2 separate regions of the Homo sapiens genome follow, and region 1 is linked to region 2. Evidence: promoter capture Hi-C in 16 types of primary human blood cells and fetal thymus (Javierre and others, 2016). All regions are on one chromosome and are shown on one strand. Each heading gives the region's core, a stretch centred on a gene start or on the middle of the fragment in contact. The rest is flanking DNA. Distances are from core to core; before and after follow the strand shown.

Region 1 (2,700 bases), core at 157-2,656, 520 kb before region 2:
CCTTTGCCTCCTTCCACAGATCTCTAAGCTTTACTTCTTTCCAGTGAACCTTGTGAAGTCCTTCTAACGCTTTCTGATGAACTCTGGCCTCTATGTTTTCAGAGATTTCTACATCCAGCTATACTATGCTGACAAAGATGTTTCCTGAGCATCTATTAAGTGCTGTGCAAGACTCTGGTGATAAGGACACATAGCTCTGCCCGCAAAGGGTACTCACAGTCTAGTGTTGGGGGCAGAATCAATCATGTACGCAGGTGACGATTGCACACCCAGAGGAAGATGCACGGCGTGGTGAAGTTCAAAGACGGGAGAGATGTTTCTGCCTGGTGGGCTGGGGAGGGATGAAGATCGGCATGGTCATGTCATAGTGAAGGCGGGACTGGACTCAGGCCTCATGGGCAGATGTGGACCGTCACACATGGCAGGAAGGGCACTCTAGATGCAGGCAACAGCAGAAGCTAGCGCCATGAGGCAAGGAAAGCACAGCTTTCTACAGGGCTAGGGGAGTCGATTGCATGAGGGGAGGACTCATGGGTGTGGGATCATGAGAGGCAAGACTGACCAGGTGAGGAACAGGGCCCTTCAGAGAAAAATACCAGTCTGGTTTCAATCAGAGCTATCCTGGTGTACCTAAGTGTTTGAGCTCCTACAAGGCAGGGTCTAGCCACTACTCAGTTTATAAACAGGTCAGCGCCTAGAACTGTGATCTGAACAGTGCGGATGCTCAGAGAGGCTCTGCCTCATGTCCCTGCAGGAGGCAGAAGAACTGGGGCCGAGGACTGGTGGTTAGGCCTGGAATGTTCATTCTCTCTCCCTTTCTTCAGGCCATTCCCTTGCTTCTTCCCATCGGTCACTTCCAAATCTCCATCTTCAAGTTCCAACTCAAAAGCTACCCTGCCCTAATGCCTTCTCAGCAACCCAGCCAGGAAAGCACTGCTGCTCCTTTGGAACCTGGGAGCTTCCTTAGAACGGTCCCTTGCATCTCCTGCACCCCCAGGCAATCCCACCCCACTCAGTATGTGTCTGTGCAGCAGCCCATCCCACCTTTCAGAGTGAAAGGTTTTTAAGCATCTCTCAGCACCTCTTCCCTTCCTGATATCCTCCAGGACCCTAACACAGCAACCACCTCATATTACATGCACAAGAGTGCAAGCTGCCTGAGACGGTCACCTTAAAAAGAGGCCACACTCCTTCCTGGGACCCAAGAGCAGTGTGCAAGAGGTGGTGTGAGGTCGCGGGTGGGGCCTGGGACAGCCTCTGGCATGAACTGGGACTGCACTTATCTGACTCTGTGCCTACTTGGCATCTGCCTGTGCCCTCAGGAAAAGCCTGTATCATGATGGCTGATTGCTGATAAGAGGGGGTAGAGCATGCTCTATTCACCTGACTCCCAGCACAGTCAAACCTGCAACCACTGCTCTGAATCACCCAGGAAAGTCCCACTTCCACCTTGTGTTTTTTTGACCTCTCCTTCGCGTGCATTAAAAGCACCAGGAGCAAGGCCGGTGAGGTGTCTCACACCTATAATCCCAGCACTTTGGGAGGCTAAGGCAGCCGGATCACGAGGTCAGGAGTTCGAGACCAGCCTGGCCAACATGGTGAAACCCCATCTCTACTAAAATACAAAAAAATTAGCCAGGCATGGTGGTGCATGCCTGTGGTCCAACAGCTCGGGAGGCTGAGGCAGGGGAATCACTTTTGGACCCAGGAGATGGAGGTTGCAGTGAGCTAAGATCATGCCACTGCACTCCAGCCTGGGTGACAGAGCAAGACTCCGTCTCAAAAAAAAGAAAAAAAAAGGCACCAGGAGCCAAAAAATATAGATGCCAGGGTGCTGGAAGAGCTCAGTGGAAATGTGAGCAGAGGGAACCTCTTTCTTGGTAGGATTTTGGGGTACACAGTTTTTTTCCTCTGAGGCAGATTCTCCTTACTCCAAATTGGGTGCCATGAGTCATAAGGAGCCATCTCTCTCTGATGATTTACAAACATCTCAACTCATTCTTTGCTTCTTAAAATTGGAGCGAGCTATCAAATGGCTTTATGAGGTATTCATCGAGCATCTCTATGTGCCCAGGGGTGTTGTTGAGGCTTTAGGGTTTACAACAGAATTTCAGCCCCAACCTGCCATTCAAGCCTCAACTCCAAGTGCACCTGCCGTGCTTCAGTGTCCCGGACGAGGCCTGCGGCAGCCACATGGGGCTGCCATCTTTTCTCACTCTGCCTACAAAGTCCCACCACCAGCCAGGATTCTGCTCAAGCTGTTGTCTCCACCTGGAATCCTCTTCCACCCCCATCTGCTTATTAAATTCCCAATAACCTACTTATTCTAAGGAATCCTGCCCACCCTCTTGTAAGGCCCAGCTCTAAGTTAACTGTTACTGGGAGACTGTACAGTTTCTCCCAGTCAGAACTCCACTGCCCCCACCACCTCTCTCATGGCAGAGTTCTGTGTCCCTCTCCAGGCACCGTCTGGAGTCTCCAATAAAGACTCTTTCCCATACAGAGGACTTGTCAGTGCGGTGAAGACAGAGACCAATACCCCAGAGATGAGGAGACCCAAGTGCTGGTCTAGTCTGACCTGGCAGTCGGTGACCTTGGACCCAGGGTCTTCAACTTTAGCCTGTTTTCCCATCTGCGGATGAGAGGCTTGTCCAGAGTAGGATTCCCAATCTGGATTCTGCCTAATCCTGTCTCCTGGAG
Region 2 (2,700 bases), core at 198-2,697:
AACCTCTGCCTCCCGGGTTCAAGCGATTCTCCTGCCTCAGCCTCCCGAGTAGTTGGGATTACAGGCGCCTGCCACCACATCTGGCTAATTTTTGTATTTTTAGTAGAGATGGGGTTTCACTGTGTTGGCCAGGCTGGTCTCGAACTCCTGACCTCAGGTGATCCGCCTGCCTCGGCCTCCCAAAGTGCTGGGATTACAGGCGTGAGCCACCGCGCTCGGCCCTTTCTTGGGTCCTCGGATCCCTCTTGTACTGTGTTGAATGTTTGGGCTCTTCCGCTCTGTTTTCTAGTCAGTTGCACCCACCCGACTGAGCCCGTGGTACTGCAGTCTTGCTGTGGTGTCTCTGCAAGCAGCTCTGCACCCCAGCACCTGGCTCGGGGCCAGGCACTGAGAAGGCAGTCAGGCCCTGTGTGCTGAATTGAAGGAATGTGTTTGTGGCTTTCAGTGACTTCGCATCTCAGGCCTTACTCTCATCCTGCTTAGTAGCAGGGGAAAGCACTTTAGCTCCGCCAGTGCCCCCAGCTGGGATCAGATTCTGACGCCATCACCTACTAGCGGTGTGGGCTTGTGCAAATCACTCCAACTCTCTAAGCCTCAGGTTTTCCAGACTTAATTATCACCTCTGCCCTCAGAGTTCAAATTAGCACTCCATTGGATGATAAATAGGCTAAATAAGATAGTAAATAGAAAGCCCTTAACACAGCGCCTGGCACATACTGAATGTTCAATAAAAGGTGGCCCCCTGCAGGTTTATTTCACCACAAACTTTATTATATGAGCCAGCACGCTTCTGGGAAGGAAACCAGGAGCTAGTCATCCTTGGGCCTGAGCTGGGTGCTGTGGCATGCGCTTGTAATCCCAGCTACTCAGCAGGCTGAGTGGGAGGATCGCTTGAAGCCAGGAGTTCAAGACCAGCCTGAGCAACATAACAAGACCCCCATCTCAAAAAACAATAATTATATTAATAAATAATTAATAATATTTAGTATTAATATAGGATTAATAAGTAATTAGTAATACTATTTATTATTATTATGCCAAGATGACAAGTATAAACTAGGCAGAACCAGGCCAACCTGGACATCTGGTCACCCTGCTTATCCTCTACTCACTACCAGCCTTGTAGGCCAGGACTGGCAGATCTTCATCTCACAAACCCCCGCCCCACCTTCCTCCTGCCTCTTCCCAGCAGCGCCCTAGCTGAGCACCTCAGGGACTTCTCCTCCCGGGGCAGGGGCCCCCCAGAACCGCAGCCTGCCTGGAGCTGCGGAATGCTCTGAAACGGGGGAGATCGCAAGTTCCCGTTCCTGCCCCCACGTCCCTGCAGACCCTGGAGCCCTTCAGCGACCCCGGGAGCCTACCGTGAGGGCCGAGCGGGTGGCGCCGGGCTGCCCTGTCTTCCTCAGGAGCAGAGAGGAGTCTGGTGTGGCCTGTGGTCAGCTCAATCCAGCCCCAGCGCTGATCAAAGTTCCAGGCAGTGGTTCCTCCCCTCACGTGGCCCCAGCGTCCCAGAATGTCACCAGGGTCACAGGACGGGAGAGGGCCTTGGCAAGGCCTCTGAAGATTACAAAATGACCCTGAACTCCTCCCATGTACAGAGCCCTGCCGGGGCCAAAATCCCACCGAGGTTGCAGGGTTGGCACCTTCAGGACCCCGAGGACACTCAGAAAGCTCTAGAGATTCCCGCAGGCGGCTGGGTTGGTGAGGCCTGGGATGGGGTCCACGCTCACACCCATACCTGTGAGCAGAGGCAGAGGGACTGGGAGCCTGCCTTCAGCCTCAGGCCCCTGCTGGGCTCTCAGCGCCCGGAGGCATTTCAAGAGGGCTGTGGATTTGTTGTTTTGTCTTGTTGTGTTTGTTTGCTTGTTTAATGAATGAACTTTCTAAACCCTTCCTGAATTAGAAGGGGGAAAAGCTATAGGGAGATGAATTGGGGCCCAATATGGAGAGGAGCGCTCACACACTCAGGGCTGGCCGAGGACGAAAGATGCTGCTTTGGAAGGGAGGGATTTTCCCATCTCCGGAGGTGTGGAACCAGGGCTGCAAGACACACGGAGTGTGTGTGTGCTGAGTGCGTGCATCTGGGGGTGTGCATGTAAGTGGGTGTAAATGTGAGTGGCTGTAGGGGGTGTGTGGTGAGTGCATGTGTGGGGGTGTGTTGTGTGTGTAAGTGGGTGTATGTGTGAGTGGGTGTGTGCGCGCGTGGGTAGGGTGTGTGTGTGGTGAGTGCGTGTGTGGGTGCGTGTGTGGGTGTATGTGTGAGTGGGTGTAGGGGTGTGTGTGGTGAGTGCGTGTGTGGGGGTGTGGTATGTAAAGAGGGTGTATATGTGAGTGGGCGTGTGTATGTGAGTGTAGGAGTGTGTGTGGTGAGAGCACATGTGTGATGTGTGTGTAAGTGGGTGTATGTGTGAGTGGGTGTAAAGGTGTGTGTGGTGAGTGCGTGTGTAAGTGGGTGTAGGGGAGTGTTTGGTGAGTGCATGCGTGTGGGTGTGGGGTGTGTGTGTGTAAATGGGTATATGTGTGAATGGGTGTAGCGGTGTGTGTGGTGAGTGCGTGTGTAAGTGGGTGTATGTGTGAATGGGTATGTAAGTGGGTGTAGGGGAGTGTTTGGTGAGTGCGTGCGTGTGGGTGTGGGGGGTGTGAGTGGGTATATGTGTGAATGGGTGTAGGGGTGTGTGTGGTGAGTGCGTGTGTGTAGGT

Evidence for each region. Contacts are between HindIII fragments. The CHiCAGO score rates a contact against its expected background, and 5 or more counts as called.
Region 1: a contact is called between a fragment that was not itself captured here and the fragment with the promoter of CPN2 in region 2, in 1 of 17 cell types (M2 macrophages). The highest score is 6.1, in M2 macrophages.

What each region holds. Positions count from the first base shown.
Region 1 is chr3:193,833,422-193,836,121 of GRCh38, forward strand. It overlaps LOC105374284 (a long non-coding RNA gene), which reads right to left. Exons shown (of 4, transcript XR_924841.3): 2 at 218-331. Among named protein-coding and RNA genes, the nearest start is that of LINC02038, 9.2 kb to the right of the region's middle. RefSeq lists an enhancer at 1,509-1,568. The HindIII fragment of the contact is 2,760 bases long and covers 27-2,700 here.
Region 2 is chr3:194,349,881-194,352,580 of GRCh38, forward strand. CPN2 (carboxypeptidase N subunit 2) reads right to left here and starts at 1,448. Exons shown (of 2, transcript NM_001080513.4): 1 at 1,362-1,448. RefSeq lists an enhancer at 924-1,773. The HindIII fragment of the contact is 6,903 bases long and covers 1-2,700 here.